2 separate regions of the Homo sapiens genome follow, and region 1 is linked to region 2. The links are contacts of gene promoters, found by promoter capture Hi-C in human tissues and cell types (Jung and others, 2019). All regions are on one chromosome and are shown on one strand. Each heading gives the region's core, a stretch centred on a gene start or on the middle of the fragment in contact. The rest is flanking DNA. Distances are from core to core; before and after follow the strand shown.

Region 1 (5,716 bases), core at 2,670-5,169, 900 kb before region 2:
GGTCGGGCGGCGTTCTCTCTCGGTTCGGCCACCGCGGGGCGGGTCCCTGCTCGGACCACGCCCCTCCCGGGCTCACCCTTGTCCCCACAGGTGGCGCTGGGCTTCGCGGACGGCAGCTGCGACCCCTCGGACCAGTAAGTCGGGGGGGAGGGAGCCGGGGCCTGGCCCCGCCCTATGGGGAGGCACGGGTGGCGAGGTCGGCCGTCCCATGCCCCGCCTGCTCCAGGTGCCGCCGTCCCCACAGGTGCCCGCCCCAGGCCCGCTGGAGCAGCCTGTGGCACGTGGGGTAAGTGGAGGCCGCGGCGGAGCCGTGCGTCCGACGGTTCTGGGGCGGGGGTCACCGGGGCCAGGCCCGCCAGGCCCTTACCTCACCAGGCCGCCTCCGCTGTCGCCCAGTCCCGGCCGCTGGCGGGAACTGACCTGGAGCAAGCAGGACCTTCCCTCCCACCTCTCCCGCCTGGCCTCCGCGGGAGTCCCCTACGATCCCGCTCAGCAGTGGGGCACTCGCTGAGGACAGCGAGTCCTGGGAGTGAGCCCAAGGCCACCCCTGGCCAGCCCAGGAGAGATAGCCAGGGCAGGCCCAGCAGCCCGAGGCCAGGCTCTGGCCACGGCGGTCTCCGACATGGAGAGACATTGTCTGCTTTTTATCCTGTTAACCTGTCTTCGGTGGTTGTGCCACGACATTCCCCAGGGTGCAGGTGCCCGGTGGCCGAGGGTCAGTCCAGTGGTAGAGCCTTGCTCTCCTAGGCTCATCCTGCTGGCGGTCCTCCTGCTTCTGCTGTGTGGTGTCACAGCTGGTTGTGTCCGGTTCTGCTGCCTCCGGAAGCAGGCACAGGCCCAGCCACATCTGCCACCAGCACGGCAGCCCTGCGACGTGGCAGTCATCCCTATGGACAGTGACAGCCCTGTACACAGCACTGTGACCTGTGAGTGCCTAGGGGCCCGCCAGTTGAGGGTGGAGATGGCGGGGGTAAATGCCAAGCCCGCCTCCACGAACCCACTCTGGTTCCCTGCAGCCTACAGCTCCGTGCAGTACCCACTGGGCATGCGGTTGCCCCTGCCCTTTGGGGAGCTGGACCTGGACTCCATGGCTCCTCCTGCCTACAGCCTGTACACCCCGGAGCCTCCACCCTCCTACGATGAAGCTGTCAAGATGGCCAAGCCCAGAGAGGAAGGACCAGCACTCTCCCAGAAACCCAGCCCTCTCCTTGGGGCCTCGGGCCTAGAGACCACTCCAGTGCCCCAGGAGTCGGGCCCCAATACTCAACTACCACCTTGTAGCCCTGGTGCCCCTTGAAGGAGGTAGGAGAACGGACCAGAGCTTGGAGAACTAATGCTTGGAGCCAAGGGCCCCAGCCCACCCCACCGTCCCACACATTGCTGTGGCCCCAACCTCGGTGCCATGTTACACCGGCCCCTGGCGTCACCCACTAGGCAGGCTGCTGCTTTCAGCCTCAGCCCCTGGCCCAGCCCCAGCAGGCCCTCAGCCTGGAAGAGGCCCCTTGGGCCTAAGCCTCGGGTGGGAGCTCAGGGCCACCTGTGACGTCTGCATCTTCTTGGAGAGAGAATAAAGTTTGTATTTAAGTGGTCTCTGCCTATGTGGGAAGGACTCTGGGACTCCAGGGCTCTGGGAGGAACCCTTGGGCAGCCAACCCCCAGTGCAAGCAGGAAGGGCGAGCGTGTGGTCCCCGGCCTGTACCCAGTCCAGGTTTCAGGCTGGCATTCCTAGCCCTGAGCTGGGCAATGGGTGGTGTCAGGTGTCGTGGCAGAAATGACTGGGGCTGTTTCTGTGACTGGGCCAGGAAAACTCTTTTCCTTCTCCAGCCCCACGCCTTTGCCTGTTGCCCCCCAACCCAGGCTGGGACAGTGAGGCACACACAGGTTGGGCTGGAACATTTATTTTACACGGAGCCGGGGGAGTGGGGGCCAGGGGGCAGGGGCAGCAGCCTTCCCGGGCAGGCCTCCCCCGGCTGCGGCAGCTGCACCTACTGGATCAGCTTGAAGGACTCCCCCGTCATCATGGCCACAAACTCTGGGAACAGAGGGGCAGGTCAGCAGCTTGCCCCGGCCCAGCCAACGGCTCCCAGGGCTCCAGGCCACTCACCCTCATAGTCGATGGTCCTGTCCCCATCCTTGTCGGCCTCCTTCATCATCTGCTCCGCCTCCACCTCGTTGAGGGGCTCCCCTGCGTTCATTAGCACGTACCTACGGGGCCTGGCGCTGAGCCACTCCATCGGCCCTGCCCGTGCCCGCCCACCACCCGCCCCCAACCCGGGCCCTACTTGAGTGTGTTCCAGTCAATGTAGCCCTTGCCCTCTTTGTCAAAGACACGGAATGCCGCCCTCAGCTCGCTCTCCTGGTTCTGGGCCTTCTCATGGTAAACTCCCATTAGTGCCAGGAAACCATCGCAGTTGAAGAACCCTTTGTCTGCAAGGGGCACAGCTGGGGCTCAAGGGATGGGGCACAGCACTCCCCATGGGCTTTGCCTCTTCCCCCCGTAGGCACTGACACCTGACCCAGGGCCCCCCCGAGGCTGCCCACCCCACTCCAGCCATGAGCTCACTGTCTCTGTCCACATCCTTGGCCATTGAGGCCAGCTCACTCTTGGTGGGGTTGATACCCAGCAGGCTCATGAGCCACTCCAGCTCCCCCGTCTTCACCTCCCCGTTGCCCTCTTCGTCGAACATCTCAAAGACTCCCTTGTACTCCTTGATCTGCTCAGCCGACAGGCGCTCTGTCTGCAGGGGACACCCGCACCGGCCTGACCAGGAGCCCCTTCTGCCCCTGTGTCCAGGGAAGGGTCAGAGGTACCCCCTGCACCCATTCCTCCATTGGCAGCCTTTCAAGGTGAGTGGTAAGAGAGGAGGCCCCCAGCGGAGAGCAGGCTTCCAGGACAAGGGGTCACACGCCAGGGGTTTGCAGGGCCAGCAGGGCTCTGCCAGGCAGCTAACAGGGGCAAGGGCCAGACAGGCAGGAGCCAGCGTGCGAGGGAACAGCAGCAGCTGCAGGGCCAGGCGGGCCAGGCAGCGGCCCTGGAGCCTGGCAATGGACACCAGGTGAGGCAGGTGAAGGAAGCCGAGAGCAGGGTGGGGAGGAGCCCAGCCCTGGCCCGGGAAAGGCTTCCAGCCCAGGATTGGGATACAGCCCAGGAAGCAGAACCCTGGGCTCCAGCCTGTGTGGCATTCCGGAGGGAGAGTCCAGCACCGGGCCACACCTGCCTGCCACCACTGCTGCTGCCCATCTGGGAGCCAGCTTTCAGAAAGGGCTGCTCCACCCTGGCCCCGGAACAAGGGCTGTGTTGGTGGCAGCAGGGCTTGGCCCCCTCTTCTACCTCAGCCCCTTCCTGCCCAGGCTCCGTGGCAGGTCATTGCACCTCCAGGTTCCAGCTCAACCTACCCAGCCAGCCCACCAGAGACTCCATCGGGCACAGAGAGCAGCCTTACCATGTCGGTGGTTGTCTGACAGGATTCTGCAGGGTGGTGACACCAGGGCTGCTGTGGGCAGAGTGCTGGGGCAGTGGTGGCAGCTGAGTTTTAGCTGGGCCTGGCTGCCTGGGGTCCCCGGGGTCCAGATTCCAAGAGCCTTTTATGGGTGGGAAATCCTGCCGGCCCTATTTTGGGACAGGCTCTCGGCCTTATCCACAGGGCCCCTTCCCGGCCCGCTTTGGCCTGGGCTTCCCCTGACCCTGAAGATGGGCACCGAAGGCTAAGTGCGGGGGCCAGGAAAGGGCTGAGACATGGCGGGACCCTCACACACGCTGTTCCCCGTGCTGTTCCCTCTTCACTGGACCAAGCTCCAAGTCTACCTTCCCAGAGGTGCGGCCCTCCAGCAGGTCTTCATGGGACCCTGGTCCCATGCTGTCATCACTTACCAGTGAGATTTCTTGTTGAAGACCCATCCTGGCCAGCTGGTGCTCAGTGGCTCAGAGCCTGGCCACCCTCCCATCCTGGTGGACTCAACATTGGCCCCGTGCCAGCATGTCACAAACTCTCAGGACAGGTCGAATGAACAAATGCATGAGGCACCGCTTGACCATCTTGTACAGGAGGGGCTGAGGGTCCACCATTCAGGGAGGAGACAGCAGGACATGGGCTGGGGGTGAAGGGGGAAAGGGAGCAAAACAGGGCCTGGGGGCTGGGCTGCCCGCTGGAAGCCAGGCACAGTTGGGGGCTATTTTGGGGTTTCTCAGGGAAACCTGATCTCCCTTCCACTCAGAACAGCAAAGCTGGCTCCCGAGGGGGCCTGGTGCCCAGGCTGGTCCGTATCAACATGCCACCGTGGAGCACACGCCTGCACACGTGTGTTCCCTCCTCAGACCCGCACTGAGCCCTCCCTGTCTGGGTCTAATTACCCACCAGACTCCCAAAGCCAGGGTCCAGCTCCTCCCTGCCCCACCCAGGCAAGAGTGTGAGGATTGCAGTGGCAGGTCAGGGCCCTCAGGGTCACACTCACACCTGCCCCCCGACTGGCCCCTTGATGGCATGAAGAGTCTGAGCAGGTGGGGCACTCAGTGTCCCCCGCCAGCCCAACCCTCTGCCTGCCAGCAAACCTGCAGCTACAGGATGGCTCCCGCTGAAACCCAGGCCAGCTGCTGAGACTGCAAGATTGACGCTGACGAGGGCAGGCCAATGGCCCAGGGCACCTCCAGCCAAACGGGAGCCGGGGCTGGAGGGAAGCGGCCCTGGGTCTGGTGGGGCCAAGGGAGGCCCTGACCTTCATCCTGGCTGCTCCCTGGCCTCAGCTTTCCCCTGGGCTGGGGCAGGGAACAATTCACGCACTGAGCACCTTCCCCCAGGGGCATAGAATGGAGGGAGCCGCAGCACCCAGGCCAGGGCCCATCCTGGGTTCTGGCTCAGGGTCTCCAGGTACAGGCCAGCTGGGTACAGAGACACAGAGAACTGCACTGGCCTCGTGGCCCTGGACAAGTCCCCACCCCAACAACTCTCACAGCCAGTGGACAGCAGGCTCTGCCTCCTCCGTTCCCAGGCTTCCAGCGTCTGACATTCCTGGGCCACAGCCCTGAAGGTTCCAGACATCCTGATGGGCTTACGAGTGAAACTCAAAGCTGTGACCCCTGGAGCCCAACTTAAAGCAGAGGGCACACCCCCCGCCCCGCCCGTAGGAAGGGGCAACATGGCCACAACCACCATCAACCTCTCTCCTCTCCATCTAGGCTTCTACCCATATCCAAGACCCAGTACAAGCAGCAGAACAGGTCCTCGCCCTCTAACCCTCTCTCCTCATGCTGACCAGCCTCTGTGTGGCCTTCGGACATACCCCGTATCTCTAGGACCTGAGACTCATCCAATCTTTATTTTCCTTCTTGTGTCTCTTCTGATCACCGAAGGGCTATTCTCCATAAGAAAACAGAAAAAGAGGCTGGGCACGGTGGCTCACGCCTGTAATCCCAGCACTTTGGGAGGCTGAGGCGGGCAGATCACGAGGTCAGGAGATCGAGACCATCCTGGCTAACACAGTGAAACCCCGACTGTACTAAAAAAAATACAAAAAAATTAGCCAGGCGTGGTGGTAGACACCTGTAGTCCCAGCTTCTCCGGAGGCTGAGGCAGGAGAATGGCGTGAACCCAGGAGGCAGACCTTGCAGTGAGGCGAGATCGCGCCACTGCACTCCAGCCTGGGCAACAGAGCGAGACTCCATCTCAAAAAAAAAAAAGAAAAGAAAAGAAAACAGAAAAAGAGAAAAACCCTGTAACAA
Region 2 (5,881 bases), core at 34-2,533:
TTCCTAGAAGTTAATTTCCCAAAGGGTGGGGAGAGCTGTCTTACTTCAGTTTCGGGGTGGGGGGCTCCCTATTTTGATCCCTCGAAGCTGTAACTGCAAACCCTTATCCCTTCACTTGGCAGCCCAGGCCTGGTCACCAGGATGGACCCTGGGTTCTCCCTCCTGACTTCTCCCGCCCCATCACCAGGGGTCTGAGGCGGACGCTGGAGGAGGGGCAAGCACAGACACAGAGGCGGCCATTTCTCTTTACAACAGCCTTTATTTCCGGCCCTTGATCCTGCTCGGATGCTGGTGGAGGCCCTTAGCTCCGCCCGCCAGGCTCTGTGCCGCCTCCCCGCAGGCGCAGATTCATGAACACGGTGCTCAGGGGCTTGAGGCCGTACTCCCCCAGCGGGAGCTGGTCCTCCAGGGGCTTCCCCTCGAAGGTCAGCCAGAACAGGTCGTCCTGCACACCCTCCAGCCCGCTCACTTGCTGCTTCAGGTGGGCCACGGTCTGCGTCAGCCGTACCTCGTAGGTGCTGCTGCGGCCCTTGTTATTCCTCACCAGGATGCTCAGAGGTTCGTCGCATTTGTCCACCACCAGCAGGACCGTGCTGCCGGGGCCCAGGCCCTGGCTGGCAAGGGGGACCCTGTCCTGCAGCGCCACACCGCTCGGGTGGACAGCCAGACGCTGCTGGAAGGCGTGCACGCCGATCTTCTGGGTGATCTGCGCCTTCAGCTCTGACACCGACATGGAGCTGCTCAGGGACACCTGGAATTCGTTGCCCGCCAGCATCTTCACCGTCAGGTCCCAGCCCTGCAGGCGTCACACAGGTTCAGAGACTGCGGCGCCAGCCCCAGGCCCACCACACACAAGGCACTGGCTGCAGGGCGAGCTCCTGTACCCAGGGACAGTGCTCCCTCCTGTCTGTCCTCTACATCCCGCCGGCAGGGACCCCAGGCACAGAAGGCACTGAGGGCTCGTTACTAGAAGGCCAGCTGCCCACCGCCATCCCGTGGCCTCCCTTTACCTGCTAGGGTGCCCCTCTGTGCCCCACCCTGAGGATCTCAGGGGTGACCTGCTTTCAGGAGCACACTTAGAACCTGGCCAAGCTCTGAGCAGCTCCGCTCTCCCTGCACCCCTGGGAGACCTTGGCTGGGGGAGGGAGACGAAAATTGGCTGGCACAGAGCCCACCTCCCCCCACCTGTGACATCTGCCTTACCATGGCTGTGGGCTGTGGGCTGTGGGCCACGGCACAAGCTCCTGTACTGGCAAAGATGAGTTCGCTGCCTCTCAGCCGCCGGCTTCGGCAGGCAGCACCGGCCCTATTATAAGCCTGAGGCACACACGTCAGGGGGCGTGCCGCCGAGCCTGCGCTGGTGGCCAAATTTGGCTTCAGTTTCGGTTTCCCTTTCCCGAGGCATGCCCCAGAGTGAGCGGAAGAAACAAAACCGAATGACCGAAAGACAGGGAAAAGCAAAAGTGGCGGGGACTCCGGACAGCGGACGGCATCCCCACCCCCACCCAACACCCTGGAAACACCTAAATATCGCGCATTCCAGATCCTTCACAGGATGCACTAAAGCTGTCATCACATGGACTAATGGTTTCATTTTCCATTTACCAACTTGCAAAATTAGTAAACTTGGAAAACATCCCCATGGTTAATTGAGAAACAAGAACTCCAAACTACCCAGAGATAACAACACTCGGTTTAGGGCAGTATTTGCTCAGATTGGTGTTTTTTTGTTGTTGTTTTTGTGTTTTTGAGACAGGGTCTCTCACTCTGTCGCCCAGGCTGGAGTGCAGAGGCACGATCTCATCTCATTGCAACCTCCGCCTGCCAGGCTAAAGCGATCCTCTCACCTCAGCCTCCCACGTAGCTGGGACCACAGGGGTGCACCACCAGGCCCGGCTAATTTTTTGTATTTTTAGTAGAGATGGGGGTCTCGCCATGTCGCCCAGGCTGATCTCGAACTCCTGGGCTCAAGTGATCCACCTGCCTCGGCCTCTGAAACTGCTGGGATTACAGGCGTGAGCCACTGCACCCGGAGCCTCAGATTGTTTTTTAATAAAAGAGACCTATCTTTTATTTTCTACAAAAATGAACTCTGGGACACTATTGAGAAAGTGAAAAGACAATCCATAGAATGGGAAGAAATATTTGCAAATTATCTATCTGATGAGGGCATAGCATCCAGGACATATAGAGAACTCTTACAACTCAATAAAAAATAAAAATAAAAAAAAAAGGCAACTCAATTTTCAAATGGCCAAAAGACTTCAATAGACATTTCTCCAATGACATAGAAACGGCTGTAAAGTGATGTTCAACATCATTATTAATTGGGGAAATGCAAATCAAAACCCCAGTGAGATGCTATTTCCTGCTGGTATGACTGTAATAATAAAAATAAAGGCCAGGCCGGGTGCGGTGGCTCACGCCTGCAATCCCAACACTTTGGGAGGCTGAGGCGGGCGGATCACCTAAGGTCAGGAGTTTGAGACCAGCCTGGCCAACATTTTTAGTAGAAACCCCATCTCTACTAAAAATACAAAAATTAGCTGGGCGTGGTGGTGCACGCCTGTAATCCCAGCTACTTGGGAGGCTGAGGCGGGAGAATCCCTTGAACCCAGGAGGCAGAGATTGTGGTGAGCCAAGATTGCACCAATGCACTCCAGCCTGGGCAGCAGAGCAAGACAGTCTCAAAAAATAATATAAAATAAACATAAAGGCAGTAACAAGCACTGGGGAATACATAGAGGAACTGGAATCCTGGTACATGCATTGCTGTTGAGAATGTAAAACAGTGCGGCCGCCGCGATGCTCAAAACGTTCAACAGAATTATTGGGAACCCAGCAGTTCCACTTCTAGGCATGTGTCCAAAAGAATTGAAAATAGGTGTTCAAATACTTGCATACAAATGTCCATGGCAGCACAGTTTACAATAAACAAGTAGCAGGAACGGAGCACATGTCCATCAGTGATGGATGGACACACAAAGTGTGGAATGTCCACACAACGGAATATTATGCAGCCATGAAAAGGACTGAGGCACTGATTCATGTGAAAGAACCTTGAAAACGTTATGCTAAGTGGAAAGAGCCAGACACGAAGGCCGCAGAGTGTTGGTTCCATTCACCGCAGGGGAAACGACCGGAACTGGTAGAGCCGCAGCACAGGAAGCCGACCCCGTTACCGGGGGCCAGGGAGGGGGAGTGGGGGGTGATTGCTTCAGAGCCACAAGCCCCTTTGGGGGTGACAATGTTTCAGAACTCCACAGAGGTGATGGTTGGACAACGTGGTAAATAACTAAACGCCACTGGATTTCATTCTTTAAAATGGTTAGTTTTATGTTATATGAATTTCACATCAATAAAAAGCAAAGGTGAAAAGGCCTCACCATACTTTCACTGTTTTGTAACCTGCTTCATTCATGCAACAGTGTATCATAAACATCTATCCAGGCCAGGCGGCTCATGCCTGTAATGCCGGCATTTCGGGAGGCTGAGGCGGGAGGATCATTTGAGATCAGGAGTTCGAGACCAGCCTGACCTACATGGCGAAACCCCATCTCTACTAAAAATACAACAACAACAAAAAAGGCCAGGTACAGGGGCTCACGCCTGTAATCCCAGCACTTTGGGAGGCCGAGGCAGGCAGATCACCTGAGGTCAGGAGTTCAAGACCAGCCTGGCCAATATGGTGAAACTCCGTCCCTACTAAAAATGCGAAAAATTAGCTGGGCATGGGCCGGGCGCAGTGGCTCACCTGTAATCCCAGCACTTTGAGAGACCGAGGCGGGTAGATCACCTGAGGTCAGCAGTTTGAGACCAGCCTGGCCAACATGGTGAAACCCCATCTCTACTAAAAATACAAAAATTAGCTGGGCGTGGTGGTGGGCACCTGTAATCCCAGATACTTGGGAGGCTGAGGCAGGAGAATCACTTGAGCCTGGGAGGCGGAGGCTGCAGTGAGCCGAGATCGCTTCACTGCACTCCAGCCTGGGTGAGAGAGCGAGACCCTGTCTCAAAAAAAAAAAAAAAAAACCCAAAAAACAAAAACACGCATCTATCCGTGTTGGTGGACGCATCTGTGCAGGTTGTTTTAACAACTGCATGTTTCCCATGGAAGAATGAGCCTGTTACAGTACAGAGTTAATTTAGTTAAAACCCATCCCACATCACTGAATACTTAGGCTGTTCCCAAATTGTTGTTGTTACACACAGCACATAACAAGAGAAGGATAGCTAAGACTCAGTAATAAACAAATAAATAAAATATTTAAATAAGATTCAAATAAATAAATAAATAATTTTTAAATAAACAAGTGTAAGAGTGAAAAATCAACATATTCTGAATATGAATCCTGGCCCTTCCCCGTCTCCCAGCAAATCTCAGGGGTCACCAAAATTGTCAGCATCTGAAAACCAAAGAGGAGGCGGGGTGGCGGCTCACGCCTGTGATCCCAGCGCTTTGGGAGGACGAGGCGGGCAAATCACTTGAGGTCAGGAGTTCAAGACCAGCCTAGCCAACATGGTGAAACCCCATCTCTACTAAAAATGCAAAAATTAGCTGGGTGTGGTGGCTCACACCTGTAGTCCCAGCTACTCGAGAGGCTGAGGCAGGAGAATTGCTTGAGCCCTGGAGGTGGAGGTTGCAGTGAGCTGAGATCGCGCCACTGCCCTCCAGCCTGGGCGACGAGAACAAGACCCTGTCTCAAACAAACAAACACCACAGTCCCAGGACTTTGGGAGGCCGAGGCAGGCAGATGGCTTGAGCCCAGGAGTTTGAGACCAGCCTGGGCAACATGGTGAAACCCTGTCCCTGCAATACATAAAAAAATTGGCCGGGCGTGGTGGCGCACACCTGTAGTCCTGGCTACTTTGGAGGCTGAGGTGGGAGGATAGCTTGAACCCGGGAGGTGGAGGCTGCAGTGAGCTGTGATCGCACCACTGCACTCCAGCCTGGGTGACAGAGCGAGACCCTGTCTCAAAACCAAACCAAACCCAAGCAAAACAAACAAAAAACCCAGGATTTTCTATTTATTTTTATCATTTTAGATGCCCTGTTAAACATGGTATATGTTTCCTGATTTCTTTTCTTTTTTTTTTTTTTGAGACGGAGTCTTGCTGTCGCCCAGGCTGGAGTGCAGTGGTGCCATCTCAGCTCACTGCAAGCTCCGCCTCCAGGGCTCAAGCAATTCTCCTGCCTCAGCCTCCCGAGCAGCTGGGACTACAGGCGCCCACCACCACGCTTGGCTAATTTTTTGTATTTTTAGTAGAGACGGGGTTTCACCGTGTTACCCAGGATGGTCTCGATCTCCTGACCTCGTGATCCGCCCACCTCATCCTCCCAAAGTGCTGAGATTACAGGCGTGAGCCACCGCGCCCGGCCCGTTTCCTGATTTCTTAATGCTGACGTACGGTGCTAGAATCTTCCTTTCCTTTTGGTTACTTCATCCCATCTCTGCCAGTTGTCTTCCTGCTTCGACAGAACCAACCCCAGGCACAGGCACCGAGGAAGGTGACCAGACCTGCAGTCACTTGCTTTAGTTTCCTGGGGTTGCTGAACAATGTACCACAAACTGGGTGTTAAACTTCACACCACAGAAATGTATTCTCTCGTAGTTCTCCAGGCCAAAAGCCCAAAATTCATGTGGACTAAATGACCAAGATTGTCAGATGGTGGCTCACATCTGTAATTTCAGCACTTTGGAAGCAAAGCCTAGAGGATCGCTTGAGCCTGGGAGTTTGAGACCAGCCTGGGCAACATAGTGAGACCCCACCTCTAAAAAAAAAAATAGCCGGGCGTGGTGGTGGGCGCCTGCAGTCCCAGCTACTCGGGAGGCTGAGGCACGAGAATGGCTTGAACCCGGGAGGCGGAGGATGCAGTGAG

Evidence for each region. Contacts are between HindIII fragments. The study calls those that stand out against the background at their distance.
Region 1: the fragment with the promoter of CALML6 here is called in contact with the fragment with the promoter of ISG15 in region 2 in 1 of the 25 tissues and cell types used here (H1 embryonic stem cells).

Annotation. Positions count from the first base shown.
Region 1 is chr1:1,913,463-1,919,178 of GRCh38, reverse strand. It overlaps CALML6 (calmodulin like 6), which reads right to left and starts at 3,919. Exons shown (of 6, transcript NM_138705.4): 1 at 3,872-3,919; 2 at 3,444-3,494; 3 at 2,564-2,738; 4 at 2,283-2,427; 5 at 2,105-2,205; 6 at 1,883-2,032. The coding sequence starts at 3,898. The coding sequence ends at 1,986. It overlaps TMEM52 (transmembrane protein 52), which reads left to right. Exons shown (of 5, transcript NM_178545.4): 2 at 91-134; 3 at 245-286; 4 at 748-926; 5 at 1,017-1,588. The coding sequence ends at 1,297. RefSeq lists a silencer at 1-303 and enhancers at 1-583, 4,412-5,098. The HindIII fragment of the contact is 17,409 bases long and covers 1-5,716 here.
Region 2 is chr1:1,008,899-1,014,779 of GRCh38, reverse strand. ISG15 (ISG15 ubiquitin like modifier) reads right to left here and starts at 1,283. Exons shown (of 2, transcript NM_005101.4): 1 at 1,204-1,283; 2 at 240-796. The coding sequence starts at 1,206. The coding sequence ends at 302. RefSeq lists enhancers at 171-230, 1-421, 391-800, 422-1,313, 1,201-1,620. The HindIII fragment of the contact is 22,753 bases long and covers 1-5,881 here.